Linked DNA regions of Homo sapiens: all the other regions are linked to region 3. The links are contacts of gene promoters, found by promoter capture Hi-C in human tissues and cell types (Jung and others, 2019). All regions are on one chromosome and are shown on one strand. The core of a region is centred on a gene start or on the middle of the fragment in contact, and the rest is flanking DNA. Distances in the headings are between cores, read along the strand shown.

Region 1 (3,653 bases), core at 268-2,767, 750 kb before region 3:
GCTTCATGCCCAAGGGGCAGCTTTCAAGTTTCTGGTCCTCTAAGACCTGCTCAGGCCACCTATGTGTCTCTGCCCACTCAGAATTCTAGGAGCAGCTCCCCTCTCCATCTCTGGGCAGGACCTGGCTTTGAGTAAGGGCTAGAGTGAAGGAGACTGGGAGAGGGGAATAGCCAGCTTTAGCCTCACAGCCCCGTAGTCAAGGGGAGTCCTCTGGGAGGGCGAGAAGAATAGCAAAGCAGGGAATGGAAGGTTCAGGAAGAGGCAGGCGGGACAGGGAAGGGAAATGGAGAATGTGTTTCCAACATCCCCTGGGTTTCCTCTGTCCCTGTCTCCTTCCCCCACTGAAAGAGGAATGGAGCTGGCTGGCCTTTCTGGGAGGCATAGTCCTCTAGCCTCCCAACCCTACCAGCCTCCTCTCTGTCCCCAACTGCTCCTTCTCTGGCTTCTCTCCAGAGCCCAGGGCCTCCCTGTGTCATCAGTTCATTATCATTCTGATAAAAGTCATTAGTCCTTGAAAAAGCATGATTCCCCAGCTGAGGCCAGCCCCCGCTAACCTGGGGAGGAATACAGATGGATGGAGATGTGGGGGTGGGGACAGACAGAGGCACAAACACAATGACACTTGTTTCCAGGAGGTGTGTAAATGGACACAAACCCACTGGTGCACACGGCCACACACCTTTACACACAGGCCCAGGGATGTCTCACATGGTCACCAGAGAGCCCACAGGGCTACATCACTGGAGGCACACTCAGCTGCTTCCAGTCCCAGAGAATCACTCGACACTGAGACCCAGCACCCAGCAGCCTCAGCCTCCTGGAAACACAGAAGCTGGGCTCCGCAGACTCTGGGGGCGGGGGCAGGGAGTGGAATATGGAGGCCAAGGTTAGAGATCTCCGAGTTCCATTAGCCACAAGAAGCGTGTCCGGAATCTAAAAGTGCAGGGACAAGGGCGCTGCAGAGCCGGTTCCTGACAGTGTGTCCCCATTTCCCACCCCTTCCACCACTGGGAAGCTCCTCCCTGTCAGCAAAGCCATTTAGGGATTAGAGCAGCTCCCTCAGTAAAAGCTGCTTATTCAAAAGGTGCTTTCAGTTCATTTGCATTCACTTCATGGATATTATAATGCGTGGAGGAGCTTCCTCCTCAGTCCCTCTTTGCTGTCCCCAGATTGAGTCCCTGGCCCATGCAAGGTATCAGTTTGGGCTGGGCCAAGCTTTCCAGTGACCTGGGGATCTTGTCAGGGAGTGGGAGGTGATAAACACTGACCATTAACCCCTGGTCCTCAGAAGGCAGCTCCGGGGACAGCTAGGAGGGGTCACAACTGGAGTTTTCCCAAGGGAGAGGAAGGAGGCCAAGGTCTGGAGAGGCCTCTCAATTCCCCCGGGGTCATAAGCCTGGTCTCCTAGGGAAGGAGGAATCTGCCCAGCTGCTGTCTGCAGATGGGGCTGCCACAGGGGAGCAGGCAGAGTCAGCCTCAGCTTTGAAGACCTTCTCTTTGGCAGCCACCCCACCCCGGCTCCATGCATTCAGTTCATTCAAAGAGTATTTAACTAACACCATGATGTGTGAAGCTTGATGCTAAGTAACTGGAATACAGTGTTGACCAGGCAATGTGGCCCCTGCCTTCACAGAGCTTCCACTCCAGGAGTGAAAACCCACAAAAAATGAAGACACAAGACAATATGGAATAATATGAATTATACCTAGTACCATAACAAACAGGGCGCTAAGATAGAAAGTAATAGGTCAGGGCCGGGGGACCGTCTTCAGATGGGGTGATCAGTAAATGGTGGACACATAACACACCTGCAGTTGAGGCTTCAGGGAGCCAGCTTCGCACGACTGCACTCCAGCCGGGGCAACTCTGTCTCCTAAAAAAGAAAAAAAAAAAAAGGAAGAAAGAAAAATTTCTTTCTTTCTGTGTGTGTGTGTGTGTGTGTGTGGTTTTTTTTTTTTTTTTTGAGACAGAGTTTTGATCTGTCACTCAGGCTGGAATGCAGTGGCACAATCTCGGCTCACTGCAACCTCCTCCTCTGGGTTTTAGGAGATTCTCCTGCCTCAGCCTCCCAAGTAGCTGGGATTACAGGCATATGGCACCATGCCTCGATAATTTTTGTATTTTTAGTAGAGACAGGGTTTCACCAGGTGATCCGCCTGCCTCGGTCTCCCAAAGTGCTGGGATTACAGGCATGAGCCACAATGCCTGGCCAAGAATTTCTTTCTTGATTTGTCCTTTTATCACCTCAAAGGTGCATCATGGGATTTCCCATCCCAGCTCAGGGGAAAGGCATGGCTGTGCCTCTTCATCCCCAGATCAGCCTATGGCGAGGCTGCCGTCTTTTGGACACTCCAGTGAACGTGCCCACCTGCCTGCTCTGGCACATCTGACAAGGCTGGAAAGAAGTTGCCATTTTCGGGGAGGGGTCAGTTTCAATGCCTTCCCACCAATTGGTCCGGAGCATGTCCACAGTTCTGTACACTGGGGAGCATCCAGTTCAGGCTTGGCTGAGTCAGGCAGATCCAGAGCTGCCCACCCCTCTCCCCAGGCCAGGGCTCCAGAGACCCTAGAGCCATTTCCAGCTTCCCTGCTGCTCCTCTCACCATCAATCAGGGGCTGGGATGTCAGAATCAGGACTGGGGGAAGCCACTCACATCCTGAACCACCCCCCAGGGACATAGGAATATGAGGCGAGGATCCTGAGCTCGAACATTTACAGGTAGCATTCAGGATTGAAAACTGATTTATAGTCTGAAGGCAGGCAGGAGGGAGCGGGAGGAAGGTGGGAGCTCTGTGTACAGTGCAGCCTTGTGGGGCGGCGGTAATTATATATTACGTTGAACTGTCCTTGCAGCACGGTGAAGGGCAGTGGGAATGAGACTCTAAATCACGCTTCCGTGATGCTCCCCATAGCTCACCTCCCTGTATGTGGCCCCAGAGGCCAGGGCTGACACTTCTCCCTTCTCCCCAGCCCCAGCACCACCGCCTGCCCCCACCCCCACACACACAGAGCCCAGTGGCAGGGCCAGCCTGACTGACTGGGGGAGAGCAGGAAGATGGGATGTGAGCAACTCTGGCAGCTTCCAGGGGCTGCTCATCCTGCAGGCCTCATTGTTTATTGCCCCCGCAGCCGCCAGCACTTCCCACTCTCTACCCCGCTTCTTCCACTGGGGCCTGTATGTGCGCTGTGTTGTTTGAAAAAGACATCCCTGTCCTTCCTTCATTCATTCTCCCCTGTAGCATCTCTCTTCTTTACACCACAGCCACACAGCCACCACCTTGGTTCGAGTGGGGCCTCATCACTTCTCACCTGGATTTCTGCCACCATCTCCTAACCAGTCTCCCTCTAGCGTGCCCCTACTCTTAGTCCATCATCCTTTACCTCGTTGCCATGGTAATCTCCCTAAACACACCTCTGACCATAATCTTGATCTCATTTGTCTGGGAAGTGGGGATTGTCCCTGCTGATACAATAGCTTTGTGCTCGTGAGCTATTATTATTATTATTATTATTATTATATATTTTTGAGACAGAGTCTCGCTCTGTAGCCCAGGCTGGAGTGCAGTGGCACGATCTCAGCTCACTGCAACCTCTGCCTTCTGGGTTCAAGCAATTCTTCTGCCTCAGCCTCCTGAGGCGCTGGGACTACAGA
Region 2 (3,507 bases), core at 140-2,639, 930 kb before region 3:
GGTATTCCCTGCCAGTCCCCCTCCCTGCATCCACACTGTTTTCACTGTTTCAGGACACACTTAATGCAGTTGGAGAGGGGAAGCCATTGGGCAGAGGGATATCCCAGAGTCCTAAGGGAAATGAGGCCAAGTTTAAAAGAATCAGATGTCAAGCAAATAACATTTCAACATTTTACCCAGAAACCTTTGGGTGCTAATAAGATTTTTGCACCCAAATAGCAAATCTAACCCTCTACTTCAGTAATTTTTCTCTCAGTCTCCTTATCTCCATTACTAGGACCTAGGAGAGCCTCTGTGGCTAAGCTTACTTCAGATGACCTCTTAGGTCAGATCGGTGGCCCAGCAACTCAGATGCAAGTAAAATCTCATTTCCCTTTCCAGGGAGTTCTCTCCATCAAGCCCATTCTCCTTAGCACTTAGGGTTTTAAAAATTATTATTACAACTCTATTGAGGGCTGTGTATGGTGGCTCACACCTGTAATTACTGCACTTTGGGAGGCTGAGGCTAGAGATTGCTTGAGCCCAGGAGTTCAAGACCAGCCTGGGCAACATAGGGAGACCCCGTCTCTACAAAAAAATAAAATAAACCAGGCATGGCAGCCCATGCCTGTAGTTCCAGATACTCGAGACGCTGAGGTAGGAGGATTGCTTGAGCCTGGGACATCAAGGCTGCAGTGAGCTGAGATTGTGCCTCTTCACTCCAGCTTGGGCAGCAGAGCAAGACCTGGTTTCAAAAAAAGTTTTTTTAAACTATTTTTGTATTTTTTAAGCCAGGTGCGGTAGCTCATGACTGTAATCCCAGCACTTTGAGGGGCCGAGGCAGGTGGATCATCTGAGGTCAGGAGTTCAAGACCAGCCTGGCCAACATGGTGAAATCTGGTCTCTACTAAAAATACAAAAATTAGCCAGGCATCGTGGCAGGCACCTGTAGTCCCAGCTACTCAGGAGGCTGAAGCAGGAGAATCGCTTGAACCCCGGAGGCAGAGGTTGCAGTGAGCCAAGATTGCACCACTGCACTCCAGTTTGGGCAACAAGAGCAAAACTCCATCTCAAAAAAAGAAAGAAAAGAAAGAAAGGCAAGGAGGAAGCTTATCTGTGAAAAAGAAAAGCACTATCACAAGGAATATAGGCAGATGTACAGAACTGAAATTCGAATGGCGAGGATGGCAAGAAAAGCTGGCAACTTCTATGTACCTGCAGAACCCAAATTGGCGTTTGTCATCAGGATCAGAGGCATCAATGGTGTGAGCCCAAAGGTCTGAAAGGTGTTGCAGCTTCTTTGCCTTTGTCAAACTTCAGTGGAAACTTTGTGAAGCTCAACAGGCTTCAGTTAACATGCTGAGGATTGTAGACCCATATATTGCATGGGGATACCCAAATCTGAAGTCAGTAAATGAACTAATTTACAAGCATGGTTATGGCAAAATCAATAAGAAGCGAATTGCTTTGATACATAACACTTTGATTGCTTGATCTCTTGGTAAATATGGCATCATCTGCCTGGAGGATCTGATTCATGAGATCTATACTGTTGGAAAATGCTTCAAAGAAGCAAATAACTACCTGTGGCCCTTCAAATTATCTTCTCCACGAGGCGGAATGAAGAAAAAGACCACCCATTTTGTAGAAGGTGGAGATGCTAGCAACAGGGAGGACCAGATCAACAGGCTTATTAGAAGAATGAACTAAGGTGTCTACCATGATTATTTTTCTAAGGTGGTCAGTTAATAAACAGTACCTACTCTTGGCTGGGCGTGGTGGCTCATTCCTGTAATCCCAGCACTTTGGGAGGCAGAGGCGGGTAGATCACAAAGTCAGGAGTTCGATACCATCCTGCCTAACACGGTGAAACCCCACCTCTACTAAAAATACAAAAAAATTAGCTGAGCATGGTGGCGGGCGCCTGTAGTCCCAGCTACTGGGGAGGCTGAGGCAGGAGAATGGTGTGAACCCAGGAGGCAGGGCTTGCAGTGAGCTGAGATTGCACCACTGCACTCCAGCCTGGGCGACAGAGCGAGACTCCATCTCAAAAAAAAGACAAATAAATAAATAAATAAAACAGTACCTACTCTCAAACTGAAAAAAAAAAAAACATGCCCGGCCTCCTCCTTGCCTTTTGAAGCATCTTTTGGGCAAACTTCTTTCTCAGGTGCTTGATTTCCAGCTCTTCGAAATTCTTTTTCTTTTTCTTTTCTTTTTTTTTTTTTTGAGAAGGAGTTTCGCTCTTGTTGCCCAGGCTGGAGTGCAGTGGCACACTCTTGGCTCACTGCAACCTCCGCCTCCCGGGTTCAAGCGATTCTCCTGCCTCAGCCTCCCGAGTAGCTGGGATTACAGGCATGTGCCACCACGCCCAGCTAATTTTGTAATTTTAGTAGAGAAGGGTTTCTCCATATTGATCAGGCTGCTCTCAAACTTCCAACGTCAGGTGATCCGCCCGCCTTAGCCTCCCAAAGTGTTGGGAGTACAGGCGTGAGCCACCACGCCCGGACTCCTTCGCTTTTTCTTAAGGGTTTCTGGCACAGCAGGAACCTTCTTCTTCTCTTCTACACCCTGCATGTTCCAGCCGGAAAAAGAGGATAGAGGGTCTTATATATGGAATCATTCCATATGTCCTTGATTTGATCTGGCTTACTTCACTTAGCATCACTGTTCAGGATTCACTGATGTTGCTGTGTGTACACTGCAAATAGTTCACTCCTTTTCATTGCCAAGTAGCATTCTGCTATATGGCTGTGCCCCAGTTGTTCATCCTTTCCCCTGTGGAGGGACATCTGGGCTGGTTCCTTTGGCGCTATTATGGATAAAGCTGCTGTGATTATTGGAGCACAAGTCCTTGTGTGGATGTGTCCACATTTACTCCAAAGTTTCCCCCCAACTGTTCTGGCTCCTTCTTCCCACCATATCCACATTTTTTCACATCCCTGGTGCTTAAAACAACAAGCACCCATCTTCTCCCACACTCACAGTCAAAGTCTCCTAAAAGATATGCTTCCTTTAATCATTGCTCAATTAAACAGAGCGAGCCCCTTTGTCTTTTTTTTTTTTTTTTTTTTTTTTTTTTTGAGACAGAGTCTTGCTCTGTCACCAGGCTGGAGTGCAGTGGCAGGATCTTGGGTCACTGCAACCTCCGCCTCCCGGGTTCAAGCGATTCTCGTGCCTCAGCCTCCCGAGTAGCTGGGATACCAGGCATGTGCCACCACACCCAGCTAATTTTTGTATTTTTAGTAGAGACGGGGTTCCCCATGTTGGCCAGGCTGTTCTTGAACTCCTGACCTCGTGATCCACCCACCTCGGCCTCCCAAAGTGCTGGGATTATAGGCGTGAGCCACCGCCCTGGCCCCTTTGTCATTTTTATTGCTCTACTCCAAGCTCTCTCCTATTTGTTTCTATCTTTTTTTTTTGAGACAGAGTCTCACTCTGTCGCCCAGGCTGGAGTGCAATGGCGCCATCTTGGCTCTCTGCAACTGCCACCTCCTGGGTTCAAGCAGTTCTCTTGCCTCAGCCTCC
Region 3 (3,637 bases), core at 2-2,501:
ACAGATAAACTGAGACTCAGCTCTAAGTGCTGCCCTCAAGGAGCAGCCAGTCTCATGGAGGAGGCAGTCCACAGTTAGCACTTCTAACATGTTGTGTGCCTTGATGGGGAGACATAAGGGGATCTGGGGCTCAGAGGAGGCCCCAACCCAGCCTGGGGAAGGGTCAGAATCACTTCCGGAGAAGGGGATGTTAGACCTGAGATCTGACTGCTATATAGGGTGGGCCAGAAGAGGGATAGAGAGAAAAGCACTCTGGATGGTGGGGACACACATGCCAAGGTCAGCTGCCAAGAGGAAGACCTGGGTACCTTCAGGGAATCAAAGGCAATTCAGTGCCTAGAGCTCCATATATTTTGTTGAATGAGAGCATTAGGGTAGCAAATAGGACAGGTCTCTCTCCCCTTTCCCCCACATTCAACTTCCCAGAAGGGAAGAAATTGTCTAAGAACAACTTAGAATGAGAAGTAGATGTGAAGCCAGTTTTATTTCTGAGATGGAGATACATCCTAACCTTCTTATCAAGACAGGAAAACAAAACCAGAAAAACCATGAACTCCAGATGGCCAGGATTCTATCATGCCTACCCAGGTAATCTGTGACTGCAATGCTTTGCACCCATTAGCTGGGGTTTGATTGAGAAGGCAAAAGCTAAGGCATGTAAAGTTCTTGGAGGCCCCTAAGTTAGCGCTGGCAAGGGCCAAATCTGCGCTTACTGCATTCAACACGGCACTGCCTTTGACTCTCGGGAATGGTGTCCATAATAGAAGGGATGACAGTTTCTCTGCCTGCACAGGAGGGCCATGGGAACTCAGTGACGTCATCTCCACTGAAAATGGGGAAACTGAGGCTCAGGGACTCTCTACCAGCTCTTGCAGCAACCAGGCAAACGGAAGGGAGAATATGGCTTGATTTTAGTTAAAATTCCCTGGTTCAGGAAGGTCCGCCCCTTTTTGGCTCCACCCCTACCGACTGAGCCCGGCCTCCTCCTGATGACGCCATGGGCCATGCGTTCTAGCCACGGCCCCCGCATCGGAACAGGTTCTGGCCCCGCCCCCACCAGTGAGGCATCCGGCCCCGCCTCTCCCCAAACTCCTCTGGCTGCATACCACGTTCCTCAGCTGGTGGATTAGTTCCTCCTGAGACTCAATCACGTCCCGCAGTTGATCTAAAGCGAGACACACAGATCCTGACCCCGCCTTCGACCACCCGAGGGGCGTCGCCATCTTCCGCCCCCGCCAGCTAGTTGGAAATGGCTGCCTCGGGGGTGATCCTCGCCGTCGCCCACCAATGAGAATGCGACGCCACAGAGCACCCTGGCAACGGGGGGCGGGGACTTCCTATGTTAGCGGGGCGAGGGGCCGCCTCTTAAAGGAGCCGCCTGGAGCGGGGAAACTGCTGACAACCCTTAAGGCATTTAAGTTTACAGGAAATTGCGCTTTTATTGCGTCTTCTGTTTCTCACGCAGTCCTGAGAAGCCGGCAGGGCCCGGCTTGTACTTTCCTTGCCTGCGAGCAGGCAACACTCAAAACAGCAGCCCTCAGCCTTCACCCAGGGCCTGTTAAACTGCATGACCACGAAGCAAGAGCCAGCATAGGCAACTCCTGCATCTTTAGCTTCTCATGCCTCTTTCTCCAAATCTTTATCCTAATCTCCAAATTTCCTCCATTGTATGAGATTCCAGCCTCCTGGAACACACTTAGTACTTAGGGGTCCTAAGCCTAAGCACGGAAGATAGACGAAGATAAAAAATGAGAATGGCTACACCTGAGATCAAAGTCTTCATACTCTGATACCAGGCTCTGGGCACTAGAGTCTGCACTAGAGTCATGTGCCACCACCCGAGGAGGAGGACCCTGAAGAGATTAGGAGGACTGAAGAGGGCTTGAAGGAGGAGAGTTTAGTAAAATGAAGTCAGGGAAGGATACGGTGATTACGCACACTCACCAAGTCTCTATTGAAGGCTTTTTTTTTTTTCTTGGAAACCCAAATAAGATTAGGTTTGGAGAACATCAGAGCGAATATATATTGTGTTCACTATTTCGTGGCACCGTTATGTTTATATTATTTCATGTGACCCTCATGGAACTCCTATCAGCCCCTTTTTACCTAGGCTCTATGAGAATGAGAATGAATAACTTGCCCAAGGTCACTCTAGTAAGTTGTGGAACGGAGTTCTGCTATGGGCAGTTTGGTTCCAGGGTCCGTGTTTTTGTTTGTTTGTTTTTTGAGATGTAGTCTCGCTCTGTCGCCCAGGCTGGAGTGCAGGGACGTGATCTCGGCTCACTGCAAACTTCACCTTCCGGGTTTAAGGGATTCTTCTGCCTCAGCCTCCCAAGTAGCTGGGATTACAGGCGCCCGCCACCACGCCTGGCTAATTTTCTTATTTTTAGTAGATACGGGGTTTCACCATGTTGGCCAGGCTGGTCTCGAACTCCTGACCTCAGGTGATCCGCCTGCCTCGGCCTCCCAAAGTGCTGGGATTACAGGCATGAGCCACCGCGCTGGGCCTGGAGTTCATGTTCTTAACCAGGATGTTGTGCTGCATTTGTGTTGCACGTCATGGGTGGAAGTTATGGAATTTGATACCCCCAAGTAGGAAATGACTATACTAACAAGGAGTTTGGAAAAAAAGTTACCAGTGACTATGAAAGGAGGCAGAAAGCTCAGGGTAAGTCATTCAAGCCGCTCCCCAAAACCCCCCGGGGGGCCTGACAAACTTGGCCATCCCTGTGGTTCTCTCAGCGGGAGCCCTTGTTTTGTTTCTTGCGTTTATTTTCATGGACTTGGAGACAAGGCCATCTCTGCTGACCTCTCTCTCTTTTTTTTTTTTTTTTTTTTTGAGACGGAGTCTTGCTCTGATGCCCAGGGTGGAGTGCAGTGGTGCGATCTTGGCTCACTGCAAGCTCTGCCCCAACCGGGGTTCACACCATTCTCCTGCTTCAGCTTCCCGAACAGCTGGGACTACAGGCGCCCGCCACCATGCCCGGCTAATTTTTTGTATTTTTAGTAGAGATAGGGTTTCACCATGTTCTCTTTTTTTTTTCTTTTTTTCTTTTCTTTTTTTTTTGAGATGGAGTCTTGCTCTGTCGCCCAGGCTGGAGTGCAGTGGAGCAATCTTGGCTCACTGCAACCTCTGCCTCCCAGGTTTGAGCGATTCTCCCAACTCAGCCTCCCCAGTAGCTGGGATTACAGGCAGCTGCTATCATACCCAGGTGATTTTTTTGTATTTTTGTAGAGACGGGGCTTCACCATGTTGGCTAGGCTGGTCTCGAACTCCTGACCTCAGGTGATCGGCCAACCTTAGCCTCCCACAGTGCTGGGATTATAGGCGTGAGCCACTGTGCCCGGCCGACCTCTGTTAAAGGGCCTAGAACAATACAGTTCAATAGAACTTCTAGTGATGAAAATGTTCTACAGCTGCACTATTCAATAGCCACTAGCCACATGTGGCTCTTCAGCAGTTGAAACGTAGCTCATGTGACTGAGAAATTGCTTTAAATTTTTTATTATTTTCTGAAGATCACCTTAATCATGGCTCTTTAAAATTTTTAAATTTTTAGTTTAAATGGCCATGTGTGGCTACTGGCTACTGTACTGGAAAGTGTGTGCCTAGAGGGCACTGTGTAGGTTGTGTGCC

Evidence for each region. The method cuts DNA at HindIII sites, captures the fragments that hold promoters and counts their contacts. A contact is called where the count stands out against the background at its distance.
Region 1: a fragment that was not itself captured here is called in contact with the fragment with the promoter of SPATA24 in region 3 in 1 of the 25 tissues and cell types used here (dorsolateral prefrontal cortex).
Region 2: a contact is called between a fragment that was not itself captured here and the fragment with the promoter of SPATA24 in region 3, in 1 of the 25 tissues and cell types used here (dorsolateral prefrontal cortex).

What each region holds. Positions count from the first base shown.
Region 1 is chr5:138,648,540-138,652,192 of GRCh38, forward strand. No RefSeq gene overlaps it. Among named protein-coding and RNA genes, the nearest start is that of HSPA9, 75 kb to the left of the region's middle. RefSeq lists an enhancer at 1,953-2,751. The HindIII fragment of the contact is 3,444 bases long and covers 1-3,239 here.
Region 2 is chr5:138,472,673-138,476,179 of GRCh38, forward strand. It overlaps the pseudogene RPL7P19. Among named protein-coding and RNA genes, the nearest start is that of EGR1, 8.9 kb to the left of the region's middle. The HindIII fragment of the contact is 5,437 bases long and covers 1-3,507 here.
Region 3 is chr5:139,402,838-139,406,474 of GRCh38, forward strand. It overlaps SPATA24 (spermatogenesis associated 24), which reads right to left and starts at 1,252. Exons shown (of 6, transcript NM_194296.2): 1 at 1,107-1,252. The coding sequence starts at 1,223. RefSeq lists enhancers at 616-1,189, 1,015-1,244, 1,190-1,762. The HindIII fragment of the contact is 8,558 bases long and covers 1-3,637 here.